Linked DNA regions of Homo sapiens: all the other regions are linked to region 2. The links are contacts of gene promoters, found by promoter capture Hi-C in blood cells and fetal thymus (Javierre and others, 2016). All regions are on one chromosome and are shown on one strand. The core of a region is centred on a gene start or on the middle of the fragment in contact, and the rest is flanking DNA. Distances in the headings are between cores, read along the strand shown. Region 1 has its middle 6.6 kb from the start of SYPL1. Region 2 holds the start of CCDC71L (coiled-coil domain containing 71 like). Region 3 overlaps HBP1 (HMG-box transcription factor 1).

The links. The method cuts DNA at HindIII sites, captures the fragments that hold promoters and counts their contacts. A CHiCAGO score of 5 or more calls a contact.
Region 1: a contact is called between a fragment that was not itself captured here and the fragment with the promoter of CCDC71L in region 2, in 1 of 17 cell types (neutrophils). The highest score is 5.3, in neutrophils.
Region 3: a fragment that was not itself captured here is called in contact with the fragment with the promoter of CCDC71L in region 2 in 1 of 17 cell types (fetal thymus); the score reaches 5.4 in fetal thymus.

What each region holds. Positions count from the first base shown.
Region 1 is chr7:106,116,559-106,121,187 of GRCh38, forward strand. No RefSeq gene overlaps it. Among named protein-coding and RNA genes, the nearest start is that of SYPL1, 6.6 kb to the left of the region's middle. The HindIII fragment of the contact is 4,065 bases long and covers 356-4,420 here.
Region 2 is chr7:106,658,097-106,662,539 of GRCh38, forward strand. CCDC71L (coiled-coil domain containing 71 like) reads right to left here and starts at 3,062. Exons shown (of 1, transcript NM_175884.6): 1 at 1-3,062. The coding sequence starts at 2,800. The coding sequence ends at 2,093. RefSeq lists an enhancer at 1,836-1,885 and a silencer at 2,236-2,505. The HindIII fragment of the contact is 5,408 bases long and covers 1,527-4,443 here.
Region 3 is chr7:107,172,405-107,176,703 of GRCh38, forward strand. The region is part of intron 1 of HBP1 (HMG-box transcription factor 1); the gene reads left to right. Among named protein-coding and RNA genes, the nearest start is that of HBP1, 5.6 kb to the left of the region's middle. The HindIII fragment of the contact is 5,805 bases long and covers 1-4,299 here.

The sequences.
Region 1 (4,629 bases), core at 1,138-3,637, 540 kb before region 2:
CTTCCAACTGCTTCTTGCTGACCAGGGGTGTATAGTTGGCCCTACCTAGGATTGTTAGTCGGTCAGGAGGTTATGTACACCTAAATCCCTGAGTTGGGACTTAAATTGGTCAGGGTTGCTATGAGACTATGGGAGAACAGCATTTGTAGCCTAAAATTTTGTTCTGCTGCATTCAAAGGAAAGTTATGTAGCTGATACCTTTGCTGTAGTACTGTTTTGGTTTGAAATTGTTGTATCCTAGAAAACACAAAATCAGATGTAGAATTAACAATACAGTATGCAAATAAACAAACTAATATGAGCTTTATTATAGGCAGAAGAAGTTGAGCAACCCATGGCCAAATTTAACTGGAGAAGCTTTGAAATAGTTGTGCTGAAAAGGAATCTTGAGGAACTCTGTTTTGAAGGCCCTTTAATATTTTTATGTTGTCTGTTATCTTTTCTAAACTTTCTTCTACCTGACCTGAGTTACTGATGTAAAAGCAACAAGTTTTATTTAACAGCATGCAGGTGCCTCCTGCTTCAGCAGGAAGCACCTCCTAAGTGAGTTGGTTCTGCAAAACATACCCTGCCAGCGAGTTCAGGGCCTGCCATTGGCCTTCAATGGCCGTGATTGTAGCTTCCCAAGATTGCTGGACTAGGATGGTGAGATTATGAATACTGCACTTAAGCATGGGTATATCTGCAAACCAAAAGATTGCACTGGCTACAGAATGTCCTAGGTCATTTTTCTCTATGACAGGATTATTATTGGCGAGGATGCTAAATGATGGGAGACTAAGTACTGCTTCTGATGTCCTTTGGAGGGACCAACATAAGAAGGATTTTAAATTTGGAGCTTGGCTAGAGGTTACGAAGTCTGAGGAGTTATATATGTGCACTCCAGATATTGCTGCAACTGTAGTGTAAGTGCCTCTTCACTTAATAGACAAGGCTAGAAATATGTTAGATCTGTATAAAAAGAAGAACCCAGTTCCTTTTAATGAAACTCCTGAAGAGGAACCTCACAACCAGGCATAGGTGTGATTAGTTTAGATTCCCGTATGGTTTGCATAAATAGAGGGATCCCATGGTCCCCTGGGATTAAATGTGGATGGGCAGTGACCCAAAAAGTAGTTATCCACGCATAAGGGGGTAAAAGTTTGACTTGTAGTGTTATGTGAATGTGGGGCCTGACAGATATGATTTTTGAATATTAATGGGATAAGAGAAAATTGAGGAAAAGATGTAGATGTATTAGTGAAGTTGAGAAGTCGTCCAGTTTTGACTGCTATTTCTATATGTTCCATCCTGGCTGCTGAACTATTTATAGGCATAAAGGAATTGTTATAAATCTTTCTGGCATGAACTTTGTTGTTTCCTCACCATAGAGAAAAACTGTGGAGGTACACAGTGAACTTGTTAAGAGTCATTGCATGGCTTCCATTCTGGTTTGTTTGATCATAGCTGACAGTGTAATTGCAATGGACTTGTGTGTTAAAGCCCCTGGGAAAGGGCCAGACTCCTTGGAATTTCTAGCATTATAAGCCATCTCTGGTGCCCTCCCTATTTGCTCGGTCACCGTGGGTGATTGGCATGAGGGATCGATTGGCCTAGGTTTACCTCATAAACCTGTATTTTTGGTGTGCGTGTACCTGGCGTAGTTGAATCCAGAGTATTTGGCTTGTGTGTTAGCAATTTCTTCTATAGATAGTGGAACTGCTAGGAGTGTAATGTCATTCTCGAGTGACTGCCCACGTGAGCATATCCAGCGGTTAGTGCTGTGTGTTGTGTTAGCAACCTGAGATATTACTGGTTATAGTGGGTGCTTGGTGTAGCCATGGAAGCAATAGTTAGCCATGACAGACAGAATAAACACAGAAGAATATTTAAGGAAAATGACAATATACAGTAAACTTAGGGAGACAGGAAAGAAGAAAGGCTGTAAAGAGTATGAAAAAAACCAAACAATTAGTACCTCAGCATATCAATGTTGTGGCATGGGGGTAAATAACATTGCTAGGACAAAGATAAAGAAATTTCCCCTGGGCTGTAGTTTTGGAGGTCGGCCTGCAAATAGCAATTGTGTACTATCTCCCTTATAAAAGCATTAATATCAACAGGGTGAAGCTGCTCAAGAGAGGCAGTTGGATAGTTACTGAGAACTTGCAGTAGAATTGAATAAAAAGAGTCAGCTTTAAGAATAACGTTTAAGGGCCAGTCACGGTGACTCACTTTGGGAGTCCCAGCACTTTGGGAGGCCAAAGTGGGCAGATCACCTGAGGTCAGGAGTTTGAAACCAGCCTGGTCAAAACGGTGAAACCCCTTCTCTCTTTTTTTTTTTTATTATTATACTTTAAGTTCTAGGGTACATGTGCACAATGTGCAGGTTTGTTACATATGTATACATGTGCCATGATGGTGTGCTGCACCCATTAACTCGTCATTTACATTAGGTGTATCTCCTAATGCTATCCCTCCCCACTCCCCCTACCTCATGACAGGCCCCGGTGTGTGATGTTCCCCTTCCTGTGTCCAAGTGTTCTCATTGTTCAATTCCCACCTATGAGTGAGAACATGAGGTGTTTGGTTTTCTATCCTTGTGATAGTTTGCTGAGAATGATGAGGTGAAACCCCTTCTCTACTAAAAAAACTACAAAAATTAGCTGGGCGTGGTGACACGCACCTGTAGTCCCAGCTACTTGGGAGGCTGAGGCAGGAAAATCACCTGAACCTGGGAGGTGGAGGTTGCAGTGAGCCAAGATCAGGCCACTGCACTCCAGCCTGGGCGACAGAGTGAGTCTCTGTCTCAAAAAAAAAAAAAAAAAAAAAAAAAAGAATAAGGTTTAAAGGAGGTGCTGGATTTATTTCCATTAACTTTAAGGGAGATTTAAAAATTCTAGGTTGTTTGGTTTAACAAAACCTCTTTTACCTTTTTTAAAAATTTAAATGAGTTTCCAATGTTTACCTTCTAGTTAGAACGTAAATAATGAGTATCATCTCAGCACTAGCAGCTGAGTAACAGCAGATTTAAAGCAGGCAGAAAAAAAGAGAGGAAGATAGAGAGCTTTAGAAGACTCTACTTAACTCTATAGTGCAGGTTAACCATTTGAGCTATGAATTTTTTTGTTGTAGTTTTTCCATCAGTTTAAAATGTGCACAAAATTATAATAGTGAAAGAGATCCGATCTAGCCCACCTGCCCCTCTTGCCTTTAGCTTGTAAGCTGCCTTAATCATTCCAGGGCTTTTGGGCTGAGTTAATTTTAGAAGACATCTGGGTTATAGTTTAATGATAATAGCCCTTCCCCCAAACTCAAACACCTTTTTAAAGCTAATGAGTGGCCATCAGGCTAGGGGGTGGAGAGGAGCCTGATTTCTGCTAAGGCGTAGCCAGCCATTCCTGTAGATAACACCACTATTGTAGGTTGGCTTTTTGAGGTATCTTTTCAGGTTTTTTGAATGTCTGACACCCATGGCTCTACCTGTACCCACCAATCCCACTCCTGTGACCTCACCCAAAAGCGATTCAGTGTGCAGGAGGACAGCTTCCACTCCCTATGATTTCATCTCTACCCCAAACAATCAGCAGCAACCCCAGCCACCCCCACCCCTCTCCTAAACTGCCTTTGAAAAACCCCTAAACTACGATCTTTGGACGAGGCACGTGGCATGGCTGGCCTCATGTCTATTAAACTTTTTCTGTACTGTAATGCTGTACTCTTTCTTTGTACAGCAGGCAGGAAAAACTCCTCGGGTGGTTACACAACCAACCCAAAACTCAGGACTCAAACCCCTGTATGGCTGTTGTTCTACTGGATGGGCCTGGGGCTCAGATGTTCCTCTCATACAAGGAATGAACCTCTGGTTTGGCTACTCCTGTATTCCCTCACTGGGAACACACAGTCAGGTGCGTCTGTCCCACAGGGCCATTCTAAGGGTATGTTCAAGTTATTCCTCTCAGGGGCATTTACCCTACACTTTGACAAGAGGTTTAACCTTCCTAAGTTTCCATTTTCTCATTCCCATTTTGCAGACAGGAAATGAGAGTTGTAGTGGGATTTAAATTTTATAATCATAAGAGATCATTTAGAAGAGTGCCTGGTACAGACTAAGAACTGAGGAAATGTTACCCGTTCTTGCCACTGTGTTCCAGAAACAGTGGAGTGGGTGCATCAGTCTTCTGATTGGGTGGGTAGGAAGCAGCTAAGACTTAGTGCTAGAACAAAAGTCATTTAAGGAAATCAGACTTTGGTTAGAGCGAATTAGAGTTGTAAGGAAGAATGTTCCATTGATAAAATGAAAGAAATATGAAATGAGAATATAATTCTTGAAAGCAAATAAAATGCAGTTTTTCATTACTGAAAACTATGTGGGGCAGAGGTCATGCTAATCCTCCCTGTGTGGGTCTACTTTTAGTCTATTTGTGTCATCACCATTTCAAGCTTAGCTCACATTTAAGCAGTGAATAGACAGGGAAAGTCCTCTAATTTGTAGCAGTTAATTTTATTTTTATTTTTATATTTTTGAGACTGAGTCTCACTCTGTCACCCAGGCTGGAGTGCAGTGGCCCAATCTTGGCTCACTACAACCTCCGCCTCCTGGGTTCAAGCGATTCTCGTGCCTCAGCCTCAAAAGTAGCTGGGATTACA
Region 2 (4,443 bases), core at 1,812-4,311:
CCAGGTGCTAGTTAGCTATAAAAGTTAACAATATATTTTTGGGAAGAAAACCCTATGCATCTGAAATACAATTGGCAATGGAAGCTAATAACCAAAAGATATGTCTAAGCTTCCTATCACAAATATAATTTAACACTCTCCATCTTCTAAGGAATTATTCATTTTTATTTACTCATGTGACAGTGTTTGTACAATGCATTATCATTGAGTAGTGAATAAAAGACTGAGGCTTACTAGAAAACTGGCATCAAGTTATATATATGTGTGTATATATATATCATATTATTTCTTTTAACAAGAACACTGAAATTGAAGTCACAACACTCCTATACGGACTACTAAACTTGAAATACTCATTTCAGAAAGCTATGCCATTTGAATTCTAGGAACGCAAGAGTCAAAATTGTAACTCTCATTATTCTCCTAAAAAGCTGCCAAGCAGAGATAAGCTTTAGTATTAAAGATTTCACATGTCAAGTTCCAGCCCAGTATGGATCGTTTCATGGCAGAATACTTAAATTTGAAATAATAGTGGTACAAAAACACTACTTGACCCTTTAGGTATTGCAGTAAAAGCTGGCTGTGGCACTGCTGGCTAAAAACTATTAAGTTTTCCTGCCACAAATGACCAAAGGCACTTGGATAATCAAGAATTCCACACTGGGCCATATGGTATAAACACTATAAAAGCGTAAAGAAGGGTCAGTATTCTGTGTGTCTCGCCTGTTTGATTCCTGTGGTCTTCAGCTGTCAAAGACCTAGAACTGCAAACATATAATGAGTGGCAAAAAGGTTAAAAAAAATGTTGGGACAAAAAAATCAACTAAAAATCAACTAATTTTCATTATGTTTGTAAAACTGATGAATATTAGTCTAGACATTTCTTGTTATCCAACAACAAAAACAAAAAGGAAATAGATTTCGCCCAAAGTAACCTTAACCAGTTATTTGATACCAAGAAATGCCTCCACCCCTCTTGATCATTAATAGTTCTAAGAATTCTAATGGGTATTCTGTTTATCATTTTAGTGATAATGTTTACACACATCCATCTCTCCTATGCAACTCCCATTTTAAAATACATTATCCTTGTAAAATACATTACAAGGATAATGTATTTTAAAATACTTTAACGCATAATATTCCTAGATTTGTATGTTAGACCAGGACAGGGGGCCAAATCATCTCCAGTCGGATTCCAGTGACTCCTGTAACCAAAACCAGTTCTTCACAATTTATTCATTTTTTTTAATCACACACCATATGGTTTCAATGCATTTTTTTATTCAATTCAAAAGAATTTAACAAGTTAACTTTTCCTAAACAAAAGTTTTCATGTGTATTCTACCATTTTTAGGAGCTCAGTAAATATAAACATTGTTTCAATACAAAACCTTTAAAAATACCTTGAAAATGTTTAAACAGTTGTATTTTGCATGTCTTTGTTTGTAATCACTGAGCCCATACAAATCCTTGCACTACTAACAGTCACAAGCTTGAACCTCTTAAAAAATATCCTCGATCAAAGCTTTGGAATCCAGTAAAAATTAGGAAACGAGTGGGCTTCAGAATACCCTGAGCACAAACTAGTGCAACACCACATGTTCGAACTTCTGTCCACAAAGAGGGGTGACAGTGAAATAGAAAAAGGGGGAGATAAAGAACAAGTAAATTCTGGCTTTATTACACAAGCACGAAACCAAATTCCTTTGGAAAAATAATGTCTTCGGAGGACTTCCAGACCAGTGAGGTAGAGTCCAACAGTGAGAAAACGGATCTGCCCCTAAGGTCCTGGAGACGTCTCAATCGGTGGTCAGGAAGAAAGGGACCTCCCCTGCGGGTCCAGCTGTCCCCTCCCTCCGCAGGCCGGGTACGGGAGGCAGCAGAGGGCACACCTGCCCCAGCGTCCAAGACGACCGCGCCGCGGCCCGGGACAGGGACAACCATCCGGCAACTTCTTCGCGCGTAAAGTGCATTGGGGGCCGGGGTCCTGGCCGGATCTGTAAACACTCGACTGACACTTGTTCATTCCTCCGGGCGGAAGGCCTGTCCCAAGGTCGGGGCCGGCAGGAGGCGCCCTGGAGGCCGCACCTCATGCCCGGGGCACCGGGAAGCGGCGGAGCCTCACCATGGGTTCCAGGTTCACTCGCAGGACCTGGCGCGCCCTGCGCCGCGCTGCCGCCAGGCTGCGCTCGCCCCACACGTCGCTGCCGACGCGGATGGTGGGGAAGGTGGTCAGCGTCGGGGTGGCCGCCCTCCAGATCTCCTCCAAGGTGCGGCCCCCGAAGCAGGGCCCGGGGGCCACGGGCTTGGCCGGGCAGCTCTCCTCGGGGGGCGGCGGCGGTGGGGGTGGCGGCCGGGGCTTCCTCCTGCGGGCAGCGGCCGCCCGGGCTCCGCGGCGCCTCCTCCTGGCCGCTGCGCGCGGAACCGGCCGGCGCGCCTGGCCGCGGGCTGTAGGGGGCCCCGGGGGGTCGGGTACCAGGGCCCGGCAGGAGGAGTAGCCGTAGACGTCCTTGCTGCGCAGGATGTGCGGGGAGAACTGGTGCTTGAGGCTGCAGAGGAAGCTCCAGAGCTCCGCGTCCGAGCTCATGAACTCCGTGCTGCGGGGCATGAAGAGCTTGAAGGCGTCGCCCAGCGCCTTGGTGCTGTCAGCCAGCGACAGTTGCGACCGCGAGTACACCACCTTCTCCTCCCGCGCCTCCAACCCAGCCCCGTCTTCTGCCCTAAAGTCGCCGCCCCGGGCGGCCGTGGCCGGGGCGACCGGGCGCCGGCGCCGCCGCCTCTTCATACTGCGCCGCATCGAAGGCCGCTCCGGGCCACTCACGCTCGCCGGGTCCCACTACTGCCGCCGCCGTCCCAGTCCGCGTTGGCTCCGCGGCGGCGGCTGCTGCTGGCGTCTCTCGCTACTTTTCTCGCCTCCGCCGCCGCCCCTCCCCCTCCGAGGGCGGAGGACGCGGGCGAATATCCTGCTGCCCGGTACAAGATGGCGGCCGGCGCCCACCCCTGGGCTTTGTCATTGGACGGCGCCTCGCCCCCCTGGTTTCTCTTTCTTCTCCTCTCTTGCCTCTTTTCGCCGGCTGCCTTTCTTTAAATGTGCCCGCCTCAGGCCCCTCCCACCGCAGCCCCGACTCCACCCATTGGGTGCTCTCAGAAGAGGGGCGGGGACTGATGGGGGAGAGGCCAGTTCCTGGAAGATGGTGCTGGGGTGGGTGATGGCCTTTGAACGTAAGTCAACGGTTGGGTGGATCTAGGAGGGCTGCCACGTCTAGAGTAAGAGGGTGGATGTTGGCTACACCATGGGAAGAGTGACTCTTAGAGTGAGGGGGTGTGCAGTTGTGGATTGAGCTGGGAGCTCTACCAGTGTGGATAACAAAGGGAGATTTCCCTGAAGGATGTTCCTGGTATCATCACAGCTAGGGAATTTGGGTTTAAGTCTAGGGGAAATGGGCCTTTCGCAATTCCCATCCACCCTCTCAAAGGCCTCTTCTGGCATCTTCATTCAAAACTCTTCCCTGTCTTGACCCCAGCCCATCTCAAGAAGCCAGTAGTAATCCAGAATCATTCAGGTAATGTGCGTGGCTGGCAGCTGAGAGATTTTAGTCTCCCTCTGGACACTGGAGCCATCTTCATATTTAAGAGAGACCCTGCTTATCCAGAAAGCAAAACATGTCATACCCTATAAAACTAAATACTCTTTGCTCAAGTTGATCAAAGATCTATTACAATAAAGCCATTCTGTGAAAAGAAAATATAGTTTTAAATACACAGTTCTTTATGGATGCCAATTCGTTTTTCATTTAGTTTTAAAATGTCAAAGCCACCCCTATCATTTAGAAAGGATGCATCATCGCAGACAACAGATAAGGTTTCGTTGAAAAACACAAATTGTTCAAAACACATTACCTTTTGTATTGGGAGGAGAGTAGTGGACATCCTTTAGTCATCTTTTCTGTCCTCTATACCTAACTCAGTTCCTGTCAGGTAGTGGACACTCAATGTGTTTGCCGAATGAATCAATGAAATACCACCGATTATCCCAAATAGAGTCAGAAATGTTGAAACTGCTTAGAACAGGACAATTAGATATTTTATATTGCAATTTTCACAGAACTCCTTTAAATTTCTTAAGGTTAAAAGAAAAAATCTCCTGACACTTAGAACTTTGAGGTGGGCATGTGGATTTTACCCAGGAAACATCTTATTTTGCAGTAGTGAACAAATAAAGTATAGGAGTTTTGTGATTTACATGTAGTTGCTAATGGTTTCCTCAAATATTTGACCTGAAAGAGACCTAGTTCATTCTCCTTATTTAACAGGTGAGGAAATCTGTACCATAGAGGTTCAGTAACACAGCTGGCTGATAGCAGAACTGGGATTCTAAATCCTTCGATTTCTAATCTAGTGATCTTTGTATTTCACTGAAGGTTTTTCAAACTGTGCTGT
Region 3 (4,299 bases), core at 1,448-3,947, 510 kb after region 2:
TCTAGTTTCTCCATAGAAAATGATAATAGAAATTATGAAGCACCAAAGTTTAGGAAAACAAGTTTCATAAGAATTTTTAGATGATGTCGTTTTAATATGTGACTTATCTTATATGACTCATCTTAAATACTTATTTGAATTGACAGTACTCCTAAAACAGTTTGTGGATGACTGCTTCTGCTATTAATGGGTTTTCTATTGTCTTGATCAATATAGTATTTCATGTTGAATGAGCATGAAATTACTAAGAACTTGTATAGATGTGGATTGGGCAGTGTCTGTGGGATGTAATATCTTTTATACCTACAACAATTCTGATAGGTAGATAGGTACTAGTCCCATTTTTTTTTACTTATTTTTAAAAATTTTTTAGAGATGGGATCTTGCTATGTTGCCCTGGTTGGTCTTGAACTCCTGGCTCAAGCGATCTTCCTGTCTTGGTCTCCCAAAGTGCTGGCATTGCAGGCCTGAGTGACTGGGCCTGGCCACTAGTCTTATTTACAAATAAAAAAAACAGGTCCAAATAAGAAAACAGGCCTAGAGATTTAATTGTTCAGGGCCATGAAAGTGGTAAGTGACCAAAACGAATCCACTAAGGGTTTTTGTTGTTGTTTTGTCTTTTCTTGTAGCCCGGTGGCAAACTAGAGTTGTAGACAAATACCTGTGAAATCTTTTGAAGTTTTGTTGAAAATACTCTAAAAGAACAGCATTACAGCCTCAGAGATGCTTTTGGTATAGAAAGTTGCATTTAATATACTTTGTTATGGAGGCTTGTTTTAGCATGTAATTATGTAATCCATTTAAAATACCTCAGTTTCAGAGATAGAAATTAATTGCAAATTACCTTTTCTTCACCTACTCTTTGAAAACAATTTGAGCGTGTAGTCTGGACTGGTTATGGAAATCCTTCAGGATTAGGGGAGAGCATATAGAAGATCCTGCTGTGGATTCCATGATGATGATGGAAAAGTAAGGATTCAGGGAATAATAGGCACTTGAAAGCAGGAAGTAACCCATGCTGGCTTATACCTTTTGTCTTTTTTCCCTCTCAGCTCTCGCCTTCAAAAAGAAAATGATCCCATTTAGTCATCATAGTCCTGTTTTCCTCATCCATAATAATACTTTATTCACAGAGTTGTTCTGAGTTTAAAATAAAATTAGATGAAGTACATGGAAGTGCTGTGTAGGTAAGCATTTTGTAAAACTGTTTCCTTCTTCATTCATTGAGACTTAGGTTTTTCTAGTTCTCTCTTTCTCTCCTGTCTTAAGATTTTGTGGATATTTGCTTCTGGAAGTTTGCATACCAAAAGCAATGGGGCATTCTAAGAAAGTAAAATTTGTAACACTGAACATGACATTTCAGAGTACAACTTCTGGAAAATAGATACTGAGAATCACTGATCTCGTGAAGAGATGACATGTGCAGAGTTAACTAAAATACAAGGCAAGCTGTGTTGAATCTGATACCAAAGCAGTATACAAAAGCATGAATGAACAATAGGGTTAGCTCTACCAGGAGATATTTGAAAGAGGAGCTTGTTTATCAAAATGAGTATGTAATTGGTATAATATATGTAGGGGAGTAAGAAATGTAAGGGCTTCCCTGGTATTCCTTTATTGTATTGGAGACCTTGCTTTCTTTCTTCAGAATAGTTGAGAATAGACAGAAGAGACAGAAAATTTCCATTTGTATGTAGTTTTGAATTTTGTTTTCATATATTGAATTCTCAGAATAGCCCTGTGAGGTAAGTAGAGGGACCGACCGTGAGTCTGAGATTGAGTGAGTGACCTGTCCCCGGTTACACAGCTAGTAAGAGTGAAACTGAAGTCTGTTGTCTTGAAGTGTAGCTTCTCTTACTGTATGGTAGCTTTACAGTAGCAGAACTTCAGTTTTCTCAGGACCAAACTTCTGATAGCCTTGAGCAATGAGAGGTGTGAACACATAGAACTTATATTCAGTAAATATTTATTTGGTTCTTTTGGTTATTTATAGGTAGCTCTGTTTTGAAATTAAAATAATGTCTTTTTCCAACTTCATTTAAGGAGTTTTGGGATGGTGGTTGATAACTAAGACAAAGTGCTGAAGAAATGATAGAAGTTGCAAAGAGACGTTAGTGTACTATACTTGGTGAATGTTGGAAACTGCAGGACCTGCTGTAGGGAAGAAAAAAGTTCTAGCTGGAAAGAATGAGGAAACCAAAGAGCTCTGCAGAGGGAGGGGGAAGACAAGACAGACTGCAGCTGTGCTTCTGTGGACCCCAAGAACAGCACTGTTCATACACAGAGGATAGCTCTGAAGAGAGATACCTGTGTAGTGCAGCTTCTAAATTTCATAATAAAGGTAAAAATGGGAAATGTTTTCAGTTCAGATAAGGTTGACTGTGCAGCTCACATCTGTATGTGAAGCATAGTACGGATATTCATAAGGATTTTTAGTTATCAAAATAGGTTAAATTATATTCTGTATACTTAAGATGCCAGAAATACTTCTATGGAAAGAGTTAAAATCTCCTATCTAAACTGTTAATATTAGGTGTTTAAAGAACTCACATAGTATGACTAGTTTCTCTCTTAAGAGTTAATAAATAAGGAATCTGCACTGAGAACCATTGCAAAGGAAGCTGGAGACGGGTGGCTTTCATAGAGACTGGGAATGTGAGTGCTCTCTTTAAAAAAAAAAATACCCTCCTTAAAATATTATAGGTGTTCCTGCATACTCATACAGTATTTCAGTATGATTTTGTCCATAGACTCAAAGAGACTGTTTTAAAGTATAGTTCTGATCATGTCAGACCTCTTTTAAAAAAAAAAATCATCAGTGGTTCTTCATTGTCTGATAATTGCTAATCATAACACTAGCCACTGTACATTGAAGGTTTGCTTTGTGTTAGGCTCTATTCTGAGCATTTTACATGATCTCACTGAGTTTTTGTAGCAGCCTGTGAGGTAGGTACTTTTATTGCCATTTTATAAACAAGGCATGAAGATTTTAAGTAAATTATTTAGGGTACATAGCTAGTAAGTGGCAAATCTGGTATTTAAACTCAGGCAGCCTGATTTCAGAGCCCCTATTCTTGTCTCTAAATAAATAAATAGTTTTCCTAAACTACAATTGAAGACTCTGATCCTAGACTACCTTTCCATATAGTAGTAGTAGTAGTAGTATAGCCTCAGTGTTCATGATCACATGACACACAAGGCCATCCTACTTTGTGGTAAAACTAGATTCTATATTCTGATCTCACTAGGACTTTGCCAGCTATATGAGTTTACTCATGTGAGTTTCTCTCATTGGGAGACCTCCCTCTCTTCTTTTTTTTTTTTTTTTTTGAGACGGAGTCTTGCTCTGTCGCCCAGGCTGGAATGCAGTGGCGCAATCCCAGCTCACTGCAAGCTCTGCCTCCCAGGTTCACGCCATTCTCCTGCCTCAGCCTCCCGAGTAGCTGGGACTACAGGCGCCCGCCACCATGCCTGGCTAATTTTTTGTATTTTTAGTAGAGACAGGGTTTCACCATGTTAGCCAGGATGGTCTCTATCCCCAGACCTCGTGATCTGCCCGCCTCAGCCTTCCAAAGTGCTGGGATTACAGGCGTGAGCCACCGCACCCGGCTTTTTTTCTTTTTTCATTTTTTTTTTTCGGAAATGGAGTCTCGCTCTGTTGCCCAAGCTGTAGTGCAGTGGTGCGATCTCGGCTCACTGCAACCTCTGTCTCCCGGGTTCAAGCGATTCTCCTGCCTCAGGTTGCTGAGTAGGTTGGATTACAGGCGCGTGCCACCATACCTGGCTAATTCTTGTATTTTTAGTAGAGACTGAGTTTCACCATGTTGGTCAGGCTGGTCTGGAACTCCTGACCTCGTGATCCGCCCTCCTCGGCTTCCCAAAGTGCTGGGATTACAGGCGTGAACCACTGATCTAGCCCCTTCTTTTCTTTTAACCCATTCATAGCCAAGTCCTGCTCTGTAGAACTATGGTCATTTGCTTATATCTTTCCACTAAAGTCAGACTCATGATGAATTGTTCATTAGTGAGATCCAGCATTGCAACTAATACAATGCCCTGTACATAGTATTTATTAAATAAATGATTTTTTTAATAAGTAGGAATTTAGCAACCATTTTTAGCCCAGTGTATCTCAGTATTCTGCACCTGGAAACAAAAACTAGTGCACAAAGCCATACCCCACACCAAACAGATCAGATCCTCTGGGGATGGGGCCTGGACAACATTTTTTTAAGCATATGTATGATTTCGTGTGCCACAGAGTAGAGAATCACTGATGAAATTAAATTTGCTCCATTT